2 separate regions of the Homo sapiens genome follow, and region 2 is linked to region 1. The links are contacts of gene promoters, found by promoter capture Hi-C in blood cells and fetal thymus (Javierre and others, 2016). All regions are on one chromosome and are shown on one strand. The core of a region is centred on a gene start or on the middle of the fragment in contact, and the rest is flanking DNA. Distances in the headings are between cores, read along the strand shown.

Region 1 (5,745 bases), core at 2,476-4,975:
AACTGAATCCAGAATACAGGAGGCAAGGGCTCCTGGGAAATGTAGTTCATAGGGTTTCCGCCTTGCCTTAGGGAGTGCTGAGAAGTGTGTGGAATGAATGCTTGCATTTGTTTTCTATTGTTGCCATAAAAAGTTACCACAAACATAATGGCTTAAAACACTACCCACTTATCTCACAGTTCTATATAGAAGTCAGAAGCACAGTGGACTCAGCTGGGAACTCTGCTTAGGGTCTCAATAGGCTGTCAGCCAGCTAAGGCTCTGCAGAAGAATCTGCTTCTGGGTTCATTCAGGTCGTTGGCAGTACTACTTTCATTCTCAAGGTTTACATGTGGTCCCCCTCATCTTCAAGCCAGGAACCATGGGCTGAGTTCTGCCTGTGCTTTGAAAATCTATGACTTTCCTTTCTGCTGCATCTGTGTGACTTGTCTTTTGCCTTTAGGGATTCACGTGATTACACTGTACTCACCAGGGAAATCCCGGTTAAGTTCTCCATCTTAAGGTCAGCTGATTACAACCTTAATCATATTTGCAAAGTCCCTTTTGCCATGTAAGGTGACTTATAACCATAAGACGCACACTAGGAGACAAAGATCATGGGAGTACAAATTCTGCCCGCCACAATCCTCAATGGAAGAAAACTATCAAACAAGAAAGCATTCCAACACAAAAATGTAAAGAATTTACTCAAGATAATTGATATTCTCAGCTTTATTAATTTTAATAATAATAGTTACTATACATCAAGTGTCTACTATAAGTCAGGAAATGTACAAGCAACTGTATCTGTTATTATGTTAAGCATTATTTTAAAAAGTCAAACAGCAAATTGAGAGACTTCATAGTACTTCATATAGCACATTATGTGAATGAATTTATTTATTTATTTATTGAGATGGAGTCTCGCTCTGTCACCAGGCTGGAGTGCAGTGGCGTGATCTTGACTCATTGCAACCTCCTTCTTTCAGGTTCAAGCAATTCTCCTACCTCAGTCTCCCAAGTAGCTGGGACTACAGGTGCGCACCATCATGCCCAGCTAATTTTTGTATTTTTAGTAGAGACAGGGTTTCACCATGTTGGCCAGGATGGTCTTGATCTCAAGTGATCTGCCCACCTTGGCCTCCCAAAGTGCTGGGATTACAGGCATGAGCCACCGCACCCAGCCAACAATAAACTTTATTAACATAATGTCCAGTAAATATCAATTATTATAATTTTTTTATAGAGATGGGGTCTCGCTATATTGCCCAGGCTGGTCTCAAACTCCTGGGCTCAAGCTATCTGTCGGTCTTGGCATCCTAAAATGCTAGGATTACAGGTGTCCACCTGGCCTATTATATTACTATTGTTAAAATGACATACAAGATATCCTAGTACCTTAAATAGACATAACATTTCTAAAGGCTAGTTACTCACTGTTAACTGAATTAAGTCCAAATTCCTTATCTGACTGCAACTTACTACCTCCCACTCCCTCCCACACTATCTCTCTTAGCAACCCTATAATTATTTTCAAAATCATGTTCTAGAACAACAAAAAATGTGCAAAGATTAGGATTGTTTTACATTTTTGCTAATTTCCTTAACGTCTGACTTAATACAGTAAGACTCTCTCTCTCTTTTTTTTTTTTTTTTGGTTTTTGAGACGGAGTCTCACTCTGTTGCCCATGCTGGGGTGCAGTAGTGCGATCTTGGCTTACCACAAACTCCACCTCTCGGGTTCAGTCGATTCTCCTGCTTCAGCCTCCCGAGTAGCTGGGATTACAGGCACGCGCCACCATGCCCGGCTAATTTTTGTATTTTTAGTAGAGATGGGGTTTCACTATGTTGGCCAGGCTGGTCTCGAACTATTGACCTCATGATCCGGCTGCCTCAGCCTCCCAAAGTGCTGGGATTACAGATGTGAGCCACTGCGCTTGGCCTCTCTCTCTCTCTTTTCTAAGACAGTCTCTTGCTCTATCACCCAGGGTGGAGTGCAGTGACACTATCACAGCTCACTGCAGTCCCTAACTCCTAAGCTTAAGCGATCCTCCCGTCCTCTCAGCCTCCCGTGTAGGTGGAAGGATGCAGCTAACTTTTTATTTTTACTTTTCTAGAAAAGTGGGTATCTCACTTTGTTGCCCAGGTTGGTAGTTAGATTCTCATGTCTGCTTCTGTATTCAATCTGTAGCAATATCACCCGTCGATTTTCCAGAGGCTTCTAGAAAATTCCATGTACTCTCCTGACTCAGAGAATGAAAAAAGCAAAATCATCTTTATATTATTATAAAAATAGTATAATTATAAAAATAGGATTGACATTAAAGATTACCCCTAGATCCCTGGAGCATATTTGGGGAACTGGCTGGTTGGAGTATGTTATTCCATTGATGACCCAACCTAGATTGTCCGGACTTGCCTCATTTTTCTCCTAACTGGAAGTGACAAGGCAGGCAGCTCTAGCCTCATGACAAGCGTGGTGGCTCACGCCTGTAATCCCAGCACTTTGGGAGGCCGAAGCAGGTGGATTACCTGAGGTCGGGAGTTCATGACCAGCCTGATCAACATTGAGAAACCCCGTCTCTACTAAAAATAAAAAAAAAACTTAGCCAGGCACTGTGGCGCATGCCTATAATCCCAGCTACTTGTTGGGGGCAGAGGTAGGAGAAGCGCTTGAACCCGGGAGGCGGAGGTTGTGGTGAGCCGAGATCGCGCCATTGCACTCCAGCCTAGGCAACAAGAGCAAAACTCTGTCAAATAAATAAATAAATTAATTAATGAAAAAGAGGGCATTATGGATCTAATCTACTGTTGTATTTCCTGTATTTTCTACACAGTGGGCATTCAGTGACCACCTGTTGAGTGAGTTCATGGCATCCAAGTGCACAGCCACCTAAGGCATCGGGCCTCATGAAATCACAAGCAGCCAAGGCTGGCAGGTTCCTGGGACAATTTAGCAAACTCAAGGCTATGGTGCGGGTGGGTGCAGTGGCTCATGCCTGTAATCCCAACATATGGGGAGGCAGAGGTGGCGGATCACCTGAGGTCCAGGAGTTCAAGACCAGCCTGGCCAACATAGTGAAACCCCATGTCTATTAAAAGTACAAAAATTAGCCGGGCATGGTGGTGCACACCTGTGGTCCCAGCTACTCGGGAGGCTAAGGCAGGAGAATCGCTTGAACCTGGGAGGTGGGAAATGGGGGTACAGTGAGCTGAGATCACGCCACTGAACTCCAGCCTGGGCGACAAGAGCGAAACTCCGTCTCAAAAAAAAAAAAAAAAAAAAAAGACTACGGTGCTAGGACCAATCTCCTGAGTCACAAAATTTAAGGAGTCGTCCAAAAAAGTAAATAAGATAAATATTTTCAAACAATATTAGAAAATTCAAATCGGAAACTACCGACCGGGTGAGGAGTTGTTTTTGTAAATAAGGTCTTATTCCTAATAAGTTTCGAAAGTCTAAATCTTCACACGAGTCACTCAAAAGAAAGGCCCAGCTCAGGAGCCTGCATCTGCGCTATGGCGGGTAAGCCCCGGTGGCTGACCGGAAGAAGCGCCCACGGAGGCGAACCCCAGGCGCCCCTCAGCCTACTTCCATTTCCCCTCGCGACCCTTCGCCCCGCCCACTCTAGCTGGCTGTGCCTGACTGGCTGGGCTGCCGCATATTCGCGCTGCCATTGGTCCATAATCAGCTGGGGGTGGGCGTAGGGAGACCTACTTCAGCAGGTCCTGGCCGGACCAGCATTGTTAACGGCTGCGGTTCGAAGTGGCTGTGGGTATTGCTGCGGCTGGTGCGTCGTCGCTCTAGGTACGTTGGGGCCGGGCGAGTGTCCTGCGAGAGCGGCGATTGGCGGGGTGGCGGCTCTAGGAGCGTCGGTCGCCTCTCTGAGGGCCGGCCCCGGAGGCCTCGGAGCGCCGGGCCTACCGGACGTTTGCGGCGAAGCTGCCCTGACTGAAAAGCGTCCGCGGGGCCGTCTGACAGGTCCGGGAAGAGGCCCCTGAGGGGCGGACGGGCGCGTCTCCACCGTTTTCGCAGAGGGATACTGGTGAAGCGGGAGTGGTGTGCGGCCTCAGGTCCGGGCGGCACTGGGGTTAGGGACTGCGGAGGGAAGTGGTGCGTGTTTTTTGTCCTGAGGGGTAAGTAAAAGCTCGCTCTTGTCCGGAATGCTTTCAGAAATTAACGGATAAATCTCCACCTCCACCAATTTTAGTGTCCCATTGCCAAATTTTCTTGAGTTGTTTTAATCATCTAATGAAGTCAGGTGCCAGAAGGCAACTGGATCTCGCCTGGCGGCCTTGAAGTTTGTTAAAAAGTAGGGACCAGAGCATCAGGAAAAATACAAAATTCTGAGTAAAATGCTGAAATCCCGTACCTCTGAGCTTGCCGGTGTAAGGATGGTAGGATTTAAGGAAGACGATTTCCTTAAGGTAGAAGTTCGTTTTTATGAATATGTTTTTAAGAAAATTCCATCTTATCGCCCTTCTCTAACCAGTTTTCTCCAAGTTTGGCAAGCAAGTTTGAGAAAGAGAGGACGCAATAATTTTTTTTGCCTTATTTTTGTTAAAACCTTACCGCACTTAAGGAAACGGACTTTCTACCTTTCCGTGTTTCTGTGTTGAAAATGAAGTTTCTAACCACGTGTTCCTTCCTTTACGACACAATGGCTTTTTCTGTTCTGAAGACTTGCATATGGTTAATATGTATGGAAGAAGAGGACAGTTGTACTGAATAGTCCACATTAGAAAAATTATGTCATATTCACTTAAATTGTTATTCTAGATTGCGACTTAATACTGTTTTTATTATGATTTTGTCATATTTATTGTAGCCAGTAAATGACCTGCGACATAACTATTTGCAAAACAAATGGGGAAGACCAAGATAAAGATAAGTTATATCACAGGAAAGCAATTGAAAATGCAAAAATGAAGCATCTGAATGAAGGACTAATAACACTGAATTCAGCTTTTGTGAAGTATGCCTTTCTTCTTAGCTCGTTTATTCTGCAATACGTTTGTAGAAGTGTTGACTCCGATCTTAATCAAATTTACTTCACTCTCAGTCTTATCTGCAGATATGTACAGACCACATCCTAAGATTGACTTCTGCCTCAACAGAAATACATGAGCCAGTGCCTTATTGGAAATGATTTGCGTGTTTTAAGAACTGGTGTATATAGGTACATCTTGAATGTTCTGCTTTCCTTGCCTTATGCCTGTACTTCACCTCAGCCTTCAATTCCATTGTGTTTCCTTGCTACTTGGTATCTTGAAATCTGGTACGAAACTATTGCATGATCCCTGCACCTTTGCTTCTGCATATATCATAGCTCTCTTATAGTGAGTGTGCACAATCTATTTCATTTGATGTAATCAAAGTTTAATATATTGGATAGTTAAAAATAAAATACAACTTTAAATGCGCAAGAGTATTAGTTCTCATTGTTGAGCGAGATGATACAAAATACCAAAAAATCTTATTCTCTCATTCTATGTCAGTCTATTTTACTCCCCCCCCCTCCCCCCGCCACCCGGACACACACACACTGCGGTGACTTATCTATCTCGTTTATTTTATTTTATTTTACTTATTTATTTTTCTTTGTGAGGCAGAGATTCGCTCTTTGGCTCAGGCTGGAGTGAAGTGGCGCGATCTCGGCTCACTGCAACCTCCTCCCTCCGGGTTCAAGTGATTCTCCTGCCTCAGCCTTGCAAGTAGCTGGGATTATAGGCGCCCGACTAGTTTTTGTATTTTTAGTAGAGATG
Region 2 (5,712 bases), core at 625-3,124, 360 kb after region 1:
CTCTCCTGTGACAATGAAAAGTGTCTCCAGGCTGAGCATGGTGGCTCACACCTGTAATTCCAACACTTTGGGAGGCCAAGGTGGGTGGATCACTTGAGGTTGGAAGTTCGAGACTAGCCTGGCCAACATAGAGAAACACCGTCTCTATTAAAAATACAAAAATTAGCCAGGCATGGTGGCAGGCACCTGTAATCCCAGCTACTTGGGAGGCTAAGGCAGGAGAATCGCTTGAACCCAGGAGGCAGTGTTGCAGTGAGCCGAGATCACGCCACTGCACTCCATCCTGGGCGACAGAGCAACACTCTGTCTCAAAAAAAAAAGAAAGAAAGAACAGTGTCTCCAGACATTACCAAATGTCTCTGGGGGATTTTGTCCCCAAGTTGGTGACCATTGCTGTTTGCAAAGTTCTCTTCTGGAGCTGGGAATACAGCACTGAAAGCTTCAGACAGTTCCTACCTTTGTGGAGACTATGTTCTAGTTGGGGGAGACAAACGTGTAAACCAATAAATGAGACCCCTTCAAGTGTGATAATAGCCTTATTTTCTTCCTAGCACTTATTTCTACCATTGTCTGAGAGGTATTTCAGAGGATCGTTTTAAACAGCCCCAGGACTAGTACTAGGACTAGGACTTAGCTCTTTCTAGTTGACTGGAAGCGTGACATTCGAGGTTTGGTGTGGGACCTCATCCCCTGAACTTTGGTTTTCTTTGCAGCTATAGAGGAAATCAAAGAGAAAATGAAGACTGTAAAACACAAAATCTTGGTATTGTCTGGGAAAGGCGGTGTTGGGAAAAGCACATTCAGCGCCCACCTTGCCCATGGCCTAGCAGAGGATGAAAACACACAGGTGAGACCTCAGGAACCACTGGGAGATGCTCATTTTGTCTGAGGGTCGTGATGGCTACTAAATAACTGATTCCTAGGCCAGGCGCAGTGGTTCATGCCTGTAATCCCAGCACTTTGGGAGGCCAAGGCGGGCAGATCACTTGAGGCCAGGAGTTTGAGATCAGCCTGGCCAACATGGCAAAACCTTGTCTCTACTAAAAATACAAAATATTAGCTGGGCGTGGTAGCGCAGGCTTGTAATCCCAGCTTTTCGCGAGGATGAGCCATGAGAATCGCTTGAGCCCAGGAGGCAGAGGTTGCAGTGAGTCAAGATTGTACCAGTGTACTCCAGCCTGGGTGGCAGAATGAGACTGTCCAAGAAGAAAAAAAAATGATTCCTTATACTAAGTTGAATTGGCCTCTTTGGAATCTCAATCCGGCAGAGAGCAAAGAAATGCCCAGTAGTCAAATGAAGCATTTCACTGGATTCCCTAGCCAAGAAAATGGCTAGCAGATGTACATCTGTCCTTGCATGTGGATAGTTTATTACATTACGTTCACGCTTCTTTTTCCTCTTTATTAACCCCTTTTAGCTTTTCTCTAAGCCAGGGACCTGCAAACTATAGCCAGTGGGCCAAATCCAGCCCATCTCCTGCCTTATGGCCTTTGAACTAAGAATGTTCACATTTTTGAAATGTTTTTTGTTTGTTTGAGACAGGATCTCACTCTGTCACCCAGGCTGAAGTGCATTGCTATGATCAGGACTCATTGCAACCTCTACTTCCTGGGCTCATCAAGCTATCCTCCCACCTCAGCCTCTCAAGTACCTGGGACTACAGGTGCTTGCCACCATGCCCGGCTAATTTTTGGGTTTTTTGTAGAGATGAGGTTTTGCCATGTTGCCCAGGCTAGTCTTGAACTTCTGAACTCAAGGCGTCCCCCTGCCTCGGCCTCCCAAAGTGCTGAGATTATAGGCATGAGCCACCGTGCCTGGCCTAAAATTGCAATTTTTAAATTAGTACCTAAGTACCTACATATGATCCTTGATTTTGCCCACAAAGCCTAATAATATATTTGCTGTTGGCCCTTGTGGAAAATTTTTGCTGGCCCTTACACGAGTTTATTCATTTCCACCCATGCATACAGACGAGCATGAAAACTCAGATTACCCACTGCTGCCCTCTGGATCTCAACTTTAATAAAAGGGGTTGGTGGGTCGCTAAGAGCACACACTCTGGAGTCAGACAGCCCAAACTCAGGTCCCAGCTCCATCTACACCACTGCTGTGACCTTGGGCAAGTTACCAGGCTTACTCTGCCTCCGTTTTCTCATCTATAAAATGGGACTCCAAGGACTGAGTGAGATGGCACAGTAAAGCACTTAGCACGGGGCCCGACGAATAGTCAATGCTCAGTAAAGGTCTGTGATGGCCACCATTTTTATTACTTTATTTCACTCTCTGGATATGAAGGGATGATGATTACATCTGCCTTAGAGATGAGTTTGTAGCCTACCCAAGGTATAGTACTGGGCAGATTCAAAATACACTTGTTGGGCAGGGCATGGTGGCTTACACTGTAATCACAGCACTTTGGGAGGCTGAGGCAGGCGGATCACTTGAGGTCAGGAGTTTGAGACCAGCCTGGCCAACATGGTGAAACCCTGTCTCCACTAAAAAATACAAAAATTAGCTGGGCATGGTGGTACGTGCCTGTAGTCTTAGCTACTCGGGAGGCCGAGGCATGAGAATCGTTTGAACCCAGGAGGCGGAGGTCGCGGTGGGCCAAGATTGCCCTACTGCACTCCAGCCTGGGTGACAGACAAGACTCCATTTAAAAAAAAAAAAGGATATAGATAGATACACAGACACATACACACACACACACACACACACACACACACACACACACACACACGTTGATTCGTCATTCTGTGAGTCAGCGATCTCTTGCCATTTGAGGGTCAAATCTGTACTGGCCTAGTGGGCTGGCCAAGAAATCTGCTTTCTCAGATTGTCTGTATCGTTTAGAAGAATCTTTGCTTTTCGAAGCTGTCAGGAATATTCCTAAACAGCTCACTGGAGATGGGCTTTCATCTCACCACTTGCAAGTAACCACTTGTGAGTAGACAACTGTTTACATCCTTCACTTTCATGTAATTACGTTCTGAAGTCTTTGCTGCATGCCTGTCTAGACTTTGCAGTATACAGAAGGAAAGCACACCATTCAGTGTGGAAATATGGCTAGATCAGCTGTATTTTTTTATGCAGTGGTGGTTTAAAAAAAAAAGAAGTCAGCATTTAGGAAAGTGTGTTTTCCCCAGGCAGACCTACTCATGACAGTGACATCACTATCTGCAAAGTGTCAACACATGGAAAATGCTGAATATGTCTTGATTAAAGTCAAGCAGCACAGATTTCTCCCTGCCCTAAATCCAGCAGGGTGGTGGGACATGCCCTGACCTTTTTCTGCCTGCCATCTGGTGGAAGCTTGGCTCTAACTCTGTGCAAGACCATTCCATGTTAGCGCTTGAGGCAGGCAGGCGCCTGTCATCTCATTGGCACAAAGGGCCTTGGATCAAGAGAGAGCAGAATTAGAAAACACCCCTGACGAGTCACAGGCTGCCCAGGGAGTGTGTAAGTTGTGGTGAAGGCAGAAGGAGCCTCTGTAGCATAAGCCTGAGCCATGAGACAGCCAAGAGTCATACACTGTCTTCCACTGCAAAAGTCACCGACTCCCAGCCTGGGCTTCAAAGTGAGACCCCTGTCTCTACAAAACATAAAACATAAAAAAAGTTAGCCAGGTGTGGTGGTAAGCACCTGTAGTCCCAGCTACTCAGGAGACTGAGGTAGGAGGATCACTTGAGCCTGGGAAGTCAAGGCTGCAGTGAGCCGTGATTATGCCACTGCACTCCAGCCTGGGCAACAGAGTGAGACTCTACCTCAAAAACAATGAATAAATAACAAGTCACCAACTTCCATAAATTAAACTTTTTTTGTTTGTTTTTTTGAGACGGAGTCTCATTCTTTTGCCCAGGCTGGAGTGCAGTGGTGTGATCTCAGCTCACTGCAACCTCCACCTCCCGGGCTCAAGCAGTTCTGCCTCAGCCTCTGGAGTACCTGGGATTACAGGCGTGTGCCACCACACCCAGCTAATTTTTGTATTTTTAGTAGAGACAGGGTTTCACTATGTTTGCCAGGCTAGTCTCGAACTCCTGACCTCAGGTGATCCGCCTGCCTCAACCTCCCAAAGTTCTGAAATTATAGGCGTAAGCCACCACACCCAGCCACCATAAATTAAACATTTATGATCTTTGTGATCTGAAAGGCAAACTGTCATAACAAGGTCAGCACTAGGTGTTTCAGGACTGAGTGTGCGAGGCCCTCCTCTGGGTCCTGGGACTGCAGAGCTGAGAGGGGCCTTGATGACCCCGGAGCAGTTGTCTCACAGATCAGAAGCCCAGACAGCCAAGGCTTCGAAAGCAGAAGCAACTTGTGCAAGGACTAAAAGTTAGGACTAAATCCCTCTTCCCCTACCCTCCTCATCAGGGGCAGTTTGGGGTGCTGAGTAAAGGAGACGCTTTGGGTCCCGACAGCCTTGCAGCATCTCCACCTTCTGCAGCAAACGCGGCCTCTTCCCATCAGCTGCAAACACAGGCCCAGAGGTCCTGCTGGGAGGAACGCAGGCGCATTGCTCTCAGCTTTGCTTTTCTGGCCTAACCTAAGCAAAATTAAATGGACAGATTTTGGGGTAGTAATAAGATCAACAGGAAGTCTGAACAGACAGGACCCAGGGCCGTCCTGGCCATCTGGGTAGCAGGAGCTTGTCAACAGCCTCTCGGGCCTGCCACGGGAGTGAGAGAGTGCGCTGGATCTGCTTCTCATATCCTTACATCATTTCGCTCAAGATTCACTCCCCAAGGGAGTGAAATTCCTCTAAAGGGAATTGATTAAATTGTTCCCTAAAGGAAGGGCATGGAGACAGAGTCACTAGAAACCTGAGAGTATCGAGGAAAGTCTCTATCACAGTCATAGTGATAGTGTCATTTCCCCGTGGATCATTGACACATCAGTCCCAAGTATCAAGGTCCGGAGAGAGCAAGTCAGGTTTTCCGATGATGTCGCTCTGCTGTTCTCCCCGGATGGCTCCATAGAGGGCACCTGAGGCCAGTGCTGGTCTGTGGATGGCGTTTTCCCGTGCACAAGTTTGAGACAGCGCTGGGTGCTGAGGAAGTAGGAGGCTGGGTTTGTTGAGAGGATTGAAGAGGGTGGCAAGAAACTAATTCAGGGCAAGTTAAAAAGTGACGCGGAGGTGCAGCACTTTGGATCCGAGTCATTGCAGCTTTCAAGATGAATACTAGCCCTGTTCTCAGAAGGTTCCTGAAGGCCGTCTCAGACCTCCTGTATCAGAGGGGAAGGCTTGGGGTGGAATGGGGTCGCCTGAAGCTGCACCTGAGTCACAACTAAAGAGCTTTTCCAGGTTTCCATCTTACTTTAAGTTTCTGTTCTGTAAGTTTAGCCTAAACCATCATTCACCTTCAGGATCAAAGGAAAACAGGGCTTGGTCAGGGTTCAGCTAGAGGCTCCACTCTGGTCCTCCACAGCAGGCCCGTGGTGTACTGGAAAGAGCCCCAGTTGGGGCCGAAAGACCTCAGTTTATGTCCCAGCTCTGTTCCCTGCTTATTGAACTGGTCCCCTCTGAACCTCAGTTTCCTCCTCTGTAAACCAGAGATAATGATACTTACCTTCTAGGCACATGGCCGCCTCAGCCTCCCAAAGTGTTGGGATTACAGGCGTGAGCCACTGCACCCAGCCCCCAATATTTTTTAATACATTCATATTCTGCTTAAATAGTCTAGATTTGGCTTGTATCTGAGACTCCTGAACAA

What was found. The method cuts DNA at HindIII sites, captures the fragments that hold promoters and counts their contacts. A CHiCAGO score of 5 or more calls a contact.
Region 2: a fragment that was not itself captured here is called in contact with the fragment with the promoter of ATF7IP2 in region 1 in 1 of 17 cell types (fetal thymus); the score reaches 5.0 in fetal thymus.

Annotation. Positions count from the first base shown.
Region 1 is chr16:10,382,336-10,388,080 of GRCh38, forward strand. ATF7IP2 (activating transcription factor 7 interacting protein 2) reads left to right here and starts at 3,726. Exons shown (of 14, transcript NM_001393719.1): 1 at 3,726-3,787. RefSeq lists an enhancer at 80-149 and silencers at 350-419, 3,465-3,604. The HindIII fragment of the contact is 4,743 bases long and covers 2,017-5,745 here.
Region 2 is chr16:10,746,430-10,752,141 of GRCh38, forward strand. NUBP1 (NUBP iron-sulfur cluster assembly factor 1, cytosolic) reads left to right here. Exons shown (of 11, transcript NM_002484.4): 3 at 714-847. Among named protein-coding and RNA genes, the nearest start is that of NUBP1, 5.4 kb to the left of the region's middle. The HindIII fragment of the contact is 2,874 bases long and covers 438-3,311 here.